Linked DNA regions of Homo sapiens: regions 2 and 3 are each linked to region 1. Evidence: promoter capture Hi-C in 16 types of primary human blood cells and fetal thymus (Javierre and others, 2016). All regions are on one chromosome and are shown on one strand. Each heading gives the region's core, a stretch centred on a gene start or on the middle of the fragment in contact. The rest is flanking DNA. Distances are from core to core; before and after follow the strand shown.

Evidence for each region. Contacts are between HindIII fragments. The CHiCAGO score rates a contact against its expected background, and 5 or more counts as called.
Region 2: a contact is called between a fragment that was not itself captured here and the fragment with the promoter of OPTC in region 1, in 1 of 17 cell types (naive CD4 T cells). The highest score is 7.7, in naive CD4 T cells.
Region 3: the fragment with the promoter of PLEKHA6 here is called in contact with the fragment with the promoter of OPTC in region 1 in 3 of 17 cell types (total B cells, total CD4 T cells and naive CD8 T cells); the score reaches 9.1 in total B cells.

The regions. Positions count from the first base shown.
Region 1 is chr1:203,492,414-203,495,640 of GRCh38, reverse strand. OPTC (opticin) reads right to left here and starts at 1,488. Exons shown (of 8, transcript NM_014359.4): 1 at 1,424-1,488. RefSeq lists a silencer at 1,767-1,995. The HindIII fragment of the contact is 16,129 bases long and covers 1-3,227 here.
Region 2 is chr1:204,135,534-204,138,878 of GRCh38, reverse strand. It overlaps ETNK2 (ethanolamine kinase 2), which reads left to right. Exons shown (of 8, transcript NM_018208.4): 6 at 1,630-1,775. Among named protein-coding and RNA genes, the nearest start is that of ERLNC1, 4.2 kb to the left of the region's middle. The HindIII fragment of the contact is 2,049 bases long and covers 830-2,878 here.
Region 3 is chr1:204,358,484-204,361,657 of GRCh38, reverse strand. PLEKHA6 (pleckstrin homology domain containing A6) reads left to right here and starts at 1,729. Exons shown (of 23, transcript NM_014935.5): 1 at 1,729-1,964. RefSeq lists enhancers at 1,841-2,476, 2,592-3,174. The HindIII fragment of the contact is 7,112 bases long and covers 1-3,174 here.

The DNA.
Region 1 (3,227 bases), core at 239-2,738:
TGCACACAGATGTCCTCTCTTAAACAACCCCATGCTCAGAACATGACTGCTAGTCACTAAGCTCGATTTAGAGAATGTCAACATCAAATAATCTTATGGGGTCTTTTTGTTTGTTTGTTTTTTTGAGACGAAGTTTCATTCTTGTTTCCCGGGCTGGAGTGCAGTGGTGCGATCTTGGCTCACTGCAACCTCCGCCTTCTGGGTTCAAGCGAATCTCCTGCCTCAGCCTCCTGAGTAGCTGGGATTACAGGCACCCACCATGCCTGGCTAATTTTTGTATTTTTAGTAGAGAAGGGGTTTCACCATATTGGCCAGGCTGGTGTCGAACTCCTGACCTTAGGTGATCCACCCACCCTGGCTTCCCAAAGTGCTGGAATTACAGGTGTGAGCCACCGCGCCCAGTTGACTCTTGTGGTTTTTTATAAAGATCATCCATTCATGCATTTGCTCAACAAACATTTATGGGTGTCTATTGAGTTCCAGGCACAGGACTTGTCTCTGTGGGTACAGAATGAATGAGGCACAGCCCTTCCTAGGAGCACCTAGTCTCTTTAGGAGACATGGACTTACAATGAAACATACAATGTAAAAAAGAATGTTAGTTTATGAAATATACTTCTAAATGCAGCTTTTTAGAAACAGATTATTACAGATAAAAGAGTTCTTTGTGTGTGATTGCATGAGTGTGTACGCATCTGGAAATTTCCTTAGATACCTGTGTATATTTGTGTGTGTGTGCACACAGATGCCTGCGTATGTATGTGATATGCATGTGAGTACAAATGTTCATGTAGTTCGTATATGTATAGACGGGTCAGGAAATGCATGTGGTGTGGTTTTGTATCCAGGCATAAGTGTATACAACAGTCATACCCAGTGTAGGCTTAACACAGCCCTCCCCAAAGCTAGCTGCACAAGTTTCTAGTAGACTCTCCCTCTTTCTTTCTTTTAAAATTTTTTTTATCTTTTAATTTTTATTTTATTTTCTATTTTTAAGACGGTGTCACTCTGTTGCCCAGCCTGGAGTGTTATGGCATGATCTCAGCTCACTGAAGCCTTAACCTCCTGGGCTCAGGCAGTCCTCCTGCCTCAGCCTCCCAAGTAGCTGGGACTACAGGCGTGTGTTACCATGCCCAGTTAACCTCCCCACCCTTTCTTAATTTTAGCTGGGCAAGGGGGCAAGCCTCTAGCAGTAGCAAGAGGTGTTTCTTCACCTTACCTCCCATACCTCACCCCAAACGAATTACATAATCTCAAAAAAAATTTTTCTAAGAGAGTTTAGTGCCCACCCAAAAGTCTTGTCCAACTTCTTTGGCCAGAGGCCTAAACTCTCTTCATTTTCCCTTCCCAATCCCCTGCCCCAGCCAAACACTTTGCCCTCATTTGCGCACCGATGGCCAGAGGCCTCAACCTTGAGCCTTACCCCTTCAATGCTTCTGGATCCTGGATGGAGAGCCCTGCAGCTTCCAGAAAGGTGGGGACTCTGGTGGAGGCTGTCTGAACTGGGGCTTGGGTTAGACAGTGGTGCCCGGGGGAGGGCAAGGAGTTGGCCAGGCCTGCGACCAATCAGACTTCTCATTCCTTCTGATGTCCAGCTGTTTCCCCTCCTCTTTCCTCAGGGGGTCCCCTGCCCCATTCCTGTATTTGACAAAAGAGAATTCTCCCCCCACCTTCCGCTTCACCCCCCACCTCCAGCTCCTGCTCTCTCTCCTCTTACTCTGTCAGCTCCTTCTTTCTTTTCCTTGTCCACTCTCCTGATAAGGCCACATCTTTGAGGAACAGGGAGTGCCATCCCCTGCAAGGAAGGGGCCCCATCCCTCAGATTCTGAGTCCTCAGAGAAGGCTGGAGTCGGGGGATATGGAGAGATAGAGCTTGTCTTTGCAGCTTCTTTCTCCAGCCAGAGAGTGACAAGGCTTCAGCTTCATAGCCAGAATCCAAAGATAAAAATAGGTGGAAATGAGGCACTTCACCCTCACCTAGAGCGCCAGCACAGAGACCATAATTGAATAAAATCACCAGAGACAGGAGCTGCAGGCCTAGGTAGTTCAAAGAGAAGGTGTATGGGGGATGAGATCGGATTTGAAAGCCAACTTCAAGTTCACAGATGATGATCATGAGGATACGGGAAATTCTCTAAATCTGCTAGGAGGAAACCAAATGGAAATTGGGAGGTGGGCCCTAGAAAGGATCATAAACACCAGTAGACATTGTGTAGGGTCTCGGGGGCCTGGGAAGTATCCTCTCCCGCACCCTCAGAGATGTACAGTCGTCCCTCAGTAACCATGGGGGATTGGTTCTGCACGTCCAGTGGATACCAAATCCACATATGCTGAGGTCTTTTATATAAAATGGTGAATTTGCACATAACCTACGCACATCCTCCTGTGTACTTCAAATCATCTCTAGATTACCTATAACACCAAACACAATGCTTACACCTCACTCCATTCACATGGATTCCACATAGTACTGGCACACAGCAAATTCAAGTTTTCCTTTTTGGAACGTTGTGAATTTTTTTTTTTTCTGAATATTTTCAATCTGTGGTTGGTTGAATCCACGGATGTGGAACCCACAGATACAGAGGGCCAACGGCATTCATCTGGAAACACTCCCCTTTCCTTGGTGCCTCGAGCAGGCTGCCGAGCAAGTCCTTGCTGAAGGCAGAGGTGGGGTGGCTAAGGAGTCTTCCCCAGCTTCTGCCAGCCTGTGCCCTGGCGCCCACCCAGGTTTCTCAGTGACTCTCCTTGTTCCCTACTCCTTTCCACCAACCAGATACTGAATTCCAGCTGTGAGGCCCCCTAAAGATCTAGTCCAAGTCCTTGTGGTATAGATGAGGAGAGTGAGGCCCAAAGAGGTGACGTGACTTGCCCTAGGTCACACAGAGCCAGGGCCAATGCCTAGATTTTTTGACTCCCTGGTCAGAGAGTTTTCTTTAGTTCATATGACCCTCCCCATTTCCACCTTCTTCCCCAGGAGTCCTGAATCCGTGTGTTTCCAGGCCCTCAGAGCAGATGGCTTGGCAGAACTCATCTCTGCCCTGGCACACCAGGTGAAGAGGCAGATCTAATAGCCTGGCCCTCGAGGGCAGCATTTGGCTTGCTGTGTTCCTGGGCTCCAGCTGGTGCAAGAGGGGGCTTCCCTCAGCCCAAGAGCCTGGTCACCAGAGAAGAGCATGTTCTTGTACCCCTGGCAGCCCCCCACCTGGGAAAAGACACCATCAGAG
Region 2 (3,345 bases), core at 605-3,104, 640 kb before region 1:
TATGCACAATGGAACCATTTGTGTAGAGGAGGCAAGGCAGGTTTTTCCAGCTTGAGGGCTTAATTAGATGGAACCGAGGAGGCAACTCACATGGACGGAGCTGGACACTGGGGCTGGAGAGCTGTCCCCAGACTAGCACAGTAAAGTGTTCACATGATGGGGCCAGGCCCTGTGGCTCAGGATAGAGAGGCATGCCCAGGCCAACTGGACAGCCATTCTCCAGCCCCATCAGGCCAATTGTGTTCCTTCTGGAACCCCAGGTGATCAATCTGTCGAGCAATGATTGTACCTGAGAGTACACCTAGGAACCCCCAGGGTGATGGAGCCTCTGCTGGGCAGAGCAGCTGAGCCTCGGGGTGTGGCATGGAGCAGAGGCTGGCACTGGCAGGGCCCTGGGTCCGGGAATGCTTGGCTGCAAGGCCCCCTGGCCTTTCCACAAGGGATAATTCTTAAGCATTTTAAGTCCTCCTTGCCCACAGCACAGAGCAAAATCCAACTGGAATTTCTCCAAAGGGGTAGATTGCAGCCTGCTCTCAAGTTGAGAATGGAGGAGGAAGAACCTAGCCTGGGGGAAGGAAGAGAGCTAGGGAGATCCAGACCTAGGGAGAGGGGCCTCATGGGTGCGCAGGAGTGAGGAAGACACAGTTCTGGGCATTGGGAGATGAGAGTTCCAGCCCTGACTCTGCCTCTAACCACCATATGACCTTGGGTGCATTTCTTCTCCTCTCTGGGCCTCCGTTTGTACATCTGTTCCAGGAGATTCTTTTCTAGCCACGCTCCTGGAGCCTCAGGAGACTGTGTATGTTTCTCCAGGGATATAAAGGAAGCTTGAGAAGGACAAGAAGAAGAGGAAGGAGGGAACCCTAGAGAAGGTGGCCCAGTCCTGGTCCTCCTGTCTTAAACCACTTCTTTCTGTACCAGCTCTGAAGCTGTGGTTTATTCTACCATGCCCAGGATGAGGCTGGTGGTACTGGGCTGGCAGCTGGAGGGCTATGGTGGGGCTGGAAGAAACCAGAGCCATCTGATCCATGGGTTCCCAGCCTGGCTACACATCAGAGCCATCTGGGGAACTGGACTGGGGTGGGGGTGCTCTCCAGGTGATGTTTTTAAGTAGCCAGCTTAACACCAGGAAGCCATGTTTGATATCCCTACATGAAGTCCAGCTCCCTCATTTGATAAATGAAGAAATTTCGGCCAGTGATAGAAAAGAGTTCCCTTAAGGCTAACAAGGTTAGCATAAGACCTAGGGCTAGTAATGCTTATCCAGTGCTTTTAACTGAGGGCCTCCTGTGCACCATCATTTTTGTGCAGGGGTTGGGAAAGACAGTGGTGCTGTCTTGAGGGGTTCCTGTCACTCCCAGGACAGTGTCTTGCCCCTTAACCAGTCTACCTCTCTCTCTGCTTTCCTCAATCCCACAGAAACAGTGCTCCTAGCTGGGATGGGGTAGACCCCACACTAGCTGAGTTTAGTAATCAAAGAAGCTGCCTTCTCGGGCCGCCTCCTTGGGCACAGCCCCAAAGATCAAAGGAGATGGGAGTTTGAGGGGAGATGGGAACACCTACTGAGCTTGAGGAGACCCTTGGTGGGCCCATCTCTGAGCAACTTTGTCTGGCCTGCCTCCCCCTCAGGCGTGAATGAGGTGGATTACTGCCTGTACCCGGCGCGGGAGACCCAGCTGCAGTGGCTGCACTACTACCTGCAGGCACAAAAGGGGATGGCCGTGACCCCCAGGGAGGTGCAAAGGCTCTACGTGCAAGTCAACAAGTTTGCCCTGGTGAGTGCCTTATTTCTAGGGCTGGGGCAGGAAAGGAGGAGTTAGCAGGAGGGACTGGTGACCCACCTAGCCTCCTACCCAGAGCCCAGGGTCAGGTGAGAGCCTGGGGACACCCATCCCTGGCTCCTGACCCCACCCTAGAGGTGAAGCCTGGGAAGAGCCATCTTAGGCAGCTCTTAATACTTGATGCCCTGTTCCCTGCTCCCCAAGCCCCACCAAGTCTAGGCTCTCTCCTTTCTAGAGAAATACTTCCAAGAAATATCCTAGCTTCCTGTGTTAGCAATTCCCTTGTTTGAATAAGTAGTTCTTTCTACTGCCTAACCTCAGCCCTTCATGCTGCAGTTAAATTCATCCATATATATGTATATATACTTTTTTTTTTTTTTTTTTGAGGCAGAGTCTCACTCTTGTTGCCCAGGCTAGAGTGCAATGGCGCTATCTCGGCTCACTGCAACCTCCGCCTCTCAGGTTCAAGCCATTTTCCTGCCCTCAGCCTCCCAAGTAGCTGGGATTACAGACATGTACCACCACACCCAACTAGTTTTTTTGTATTTTTAGTAGAGACGTGGTTTCACAATGTTGGCCAGGCTCATCTTGAACTCCTGACCTCAGGTGATTCGCCCGCCTCTGCCTCCCAAAGTGTTGGGATTATAGGAGTGAACTACTGCGCCCGGCATATATATATATATATATATATATACTTTTTTTGAGACAGGGTCCCGCTCTGTCATCTAGGCTGGAGCACAGTGACACAATCATAGCTCACTGCAGCCTGAAACTCCCAGGCTCAAGCAATCCTCCCACCTCAGCCTCCTGAGTAGCTAGGATTACAGGTGTGCCACCATGCCCGGCTAATTTCTTTAAACTTTTTGTGGAGATCAGCTATTGCTATGTTGCCCAGGCTGGTCTCTAACTCCTGGCCTCAAATGATCCTCCCACCTCAGCCTCCTGAGTAGCTAAGGTTATAGGCGTGAGCTACCATGCCTGGCTATATGTGTGTGTGTATATACATATATATTTTTTTAACCTTTAGAGAAGATACAGAATATCAAGCTCATACTTCTGTGTAACTACCTCCACTGACTCAGAACTCTAAGTAAGCTTTTCCCAACAGGCTCTTCCTGCTCAAATGACTGTGCTGTCAGTTCTCAATTTTCAGTGCCCCTTATCCAAGATACCTGGTTCATGCCAGGTCTCCACCGGTGTGTGCCCAGGGATTGCTAATGTTGGCTTGCAGAAGTAAGAAGACAAGTCAGCTGCCTTGAATTTCACAGTACAGAAGAGAGCTAAATACAATCTTTACTTTTCTGTAATTTCGGATTCCCTATTCTGTTTTCCTCACTGGCACAAAACAGAGTCTACATTAGGTTCTTCCTCCTCAGTCTTAAGACTTTAAGACCTTAAGCACAAGCCTTCCTCTTGCTAAGTTTTTTAGTGATCATTCACATGTGCTAGCTTATCTATGCCCCTTTTAAGGAATGGAAAGGAAATAAAGTGGAGGGAGGTACTTTGTAGCCAACCCCTGAGTGAGGAGGATTCTGGGATGGGGTGGGAATGGGATGGGAGAGCC
Region 3 (3,174 bases), core at 480-2,979, 870 kb before region 1:
CCTTCAGCAGAGCAGCTTTCCTATAGCCAATGCAGGGCTGGCCTGACATCTCAGCTGGGCAGGGGAACAGTGGGAGGTGACCAAGAGTCCCCCTCCCCAAGAGTGCTGCTGAGCTGCGCCTGCTGCCCTAACCCCAGATTCCTGGCTCCAGCCTGGCCTGCCCTGGGGTGGGAAAGACAGTCCCTTCAGTAGCTCTCTAGGTCCCTGTCTTCCTCCAATGCTGTGGTGTGTGTGAGTGGGGTGTGGAGCCACAGCCTTCACACCAACCAGCCAGGTTCCTCCCAGGCCCTGGGAGGGAAGTCTGTGCTCCTGTTCCTTCCGTTGCACATTCCTTTACAGATAAGGGCTTCAGTTGGTAAAAATGATATATGTACTCAGATCACACTAAGAGAGACCCACTTGTATTGGAGTCAAGAGGCTTAATTTTTTGATCAAGTTGTTCTAATAATAAACAAAAAATGCAATCACCAGGTGAGTGGGGCCTTGCAGACACCCTTTCTCTAGCTCCTGCTTCTTGACATATTTCTCTATTCAGAAGTGACTCCAGAAGCTCATCTGGTTCAGTCCCCAGTTTCCAGGTTTAAGGGGCAGATGGGACTGAGACCAGCGAGCCTGCCTGGAGGTTGAGGTGGGAATCTTTTGGTTTTTTCCATCTTTCTGATCCTGTTTATGAAATCAGTGTTTTTATTACACTTGCCCATTGTCACAGAGAATCCGTGGATAGAGGAAAACTGAGAGAGATGTGGATAAAGGGAAACTGAGGCAGAAAGCAATCTTTGTCTAAGCAGAAACAGAGCTACGACCCTATTGTCTGAAGTCCTTCCTTCTGCCTCTGATCCTGAATAATACAGAACCCAGGTACCCCGTAGCTTGGCTAGCATCCTTGCTCAGGGTTATCAAGACCGATTTGGGCAGGAGCTAGAGAAAGGGTTTCTGCAAGGCCCCACTCACCTGATAATTGCATTTTTTGTTTATTATTAGAACAACTTGATTAAAAAATTAAGCCTCTCGACTCCAATACAAGTGGGTCTGTCTTAGTGTGATCTGAGTACCTATATCATTTTTACCAACTGAAGCCCTTATCTGTAAAGGAATGTGCAACGGAAGGAACAGGAGCACAGACTTCCCTCCCAGGGCCTGGGAGGAGCCTGGCTGGTTGGTGTGGGGGCAGTGGCTCCACAACCCACTCACACCCCACTCATCCTGGCATCTCATAGTGGCCCCCAACCCTCTCCAAATGTTATTTCTCTAAATTCACCATATTGGGGGGGGGGCGGGGGATGGGGAGGCCCCAGGGCCCCAGCCAAGCCCTCTTGACACCTAGAGACGTGCCCCTCTCTGGAGTAGACAGCCACAGAGGTGAAAGGTGATCACCAGGCTGGCTGGGTGAGGCCCCACACATGATTCTAAGACCCTGGGCAGTTTCTGGCTCCCTGCAGTCTCTTGTGGGGGACTCTAAAAATGCAGCTTACCCAGACGGTGGCCCTGCTCCCCTTTGGGGGGCAGCCTTCTCCTGGTGGTGGAAGGCCCAGGAGGCTGTGCTGAGCCACCCCATCCTCTCCCGGGCAGGCAGGCTGCGTGGATGGTTAGCAGCTTGTCGCTGGTGTGGATGGAGTTAAACCTTTTCGGGGACTATTTACTCCTGATCCTAAGTGACAGCTTGGGGAGGGAGAGTCACGTGGCCCTGAAATCCCCGGGGGAGCCGATGGAGCATGCCCAGCTGCCTCTGCCTGGGAAAGATGCTGGATCCTGCAGTAACCACAACAGCATCCTCTCCCTGCGCCAGGGACCTGCCAGCCGGAGAGATGACTGATTAGATCAGATTAGATCCGGAGCCCCGCTCTGCAGAAGGGGGCCCCAGGGGCGGGGGAGGAGGACCCCAGCTGGCCTGAGCTGGGGGGAGGGGTGCCTTGGGGCTCGCAGAGTTAGAGCTTTCCAGCGCGGGGATCACACCTCAGAAGCCGGTGAGTCTGTTTTCATGCATCACATAGATGAGGTGGGAGGAGGAAGGCTGGGCTCTGGTCAGGGCTGGCAGCTGCCTGTCTGCCGCGTGAGCCTGGGCTGCTTGCACTGCGGAGCACTGGCTTCCCCATCTCTCATCCTTGGCAGCCTTACTTGGGGATCATGGATGCTGAGAATGCTAATTATAGCCCTCCCTGTGCCCCCACCCCCACCTCCAGAGTCCCCTGTCAGGGCTGATGCTGTTTAAATTGATTACATTTGAATTGCATCTCCTGGATGAAGGCAGCGTTGGGGCTGGCAGCTTCCTAGGGTCCAGCAGGGGTCCCCCACGCAAGCTAGCACAGAGAGGCCAGCCCACCCTCCCTTTAATCTTGCCAGCAGGAAGGAGAGAGGGAGGGGGTCCAGGGTCAGGCTCAGGTCAGCCCCAGGGACTCACCTTCCTCAGCGTGGGGAGGGGTCAGGGTGTGTATCATTCTTATGAGTCAGAGGTTGGGTCGAAGGGTGACAGAGGCTCTTGGATTCCAATTCCTAGGACGCATCTGAGCTCTGGGGGTCTCAGATTTAGTGGGGAGCTCTTGAAGGAGCTGGAGCCTGGTATGTGGTAGAGGAGGGCAGGGAATGAGGGGATGGCATTTATAATGATGGGACCAGGCTGCAGCCAGCTAAGAGCCTCGAGGTATTGTGTGAGGAGTCTGAGGAAAGGAGGACAGTTGGGGGACTGGCCAGAGAAGGGTAAGGAGGGCTACAGTGGAAGGGGAGGGAAGCGGGGCGAGACAGGAAAGTGGCGGGGGTGGGGGAGAAGGGAGAAGAAGGGAGAAGAGGCTCCTGGGAAATGCTCTTTGAGACAACAGGCCAGCCAGGGCAGGGAAGGGGGCTGTGGAGCCTGGGAGAGCAGAGATGGAGAACCGGGATAGAGGGAGAGCCATCCCCGGGGCACAGGGGTGGGGAGGGAGAGCTGCAGGAGGGTGGAAGGTGGTGGGGAGGAGGCTGGAGCTCAGAGCTGGTGTCAGAGGAGGTTGCAGCCTTCAGGGATTGGAGGCTCTTCCCAAAGCCCTGTAGACCCTTTACCCTCAATCTGATCACTTGAGTGGTGCACTCTGCTGAGGGTCTCCTGCATGGTGGGGCAGGGTCCTGGCTGGCAGGTATCTGCCTGAGCCCACTGTCTGGGCAGGTGCGGGGGCACTGCGGGCACTTGCCCTACAAATCTCCCAA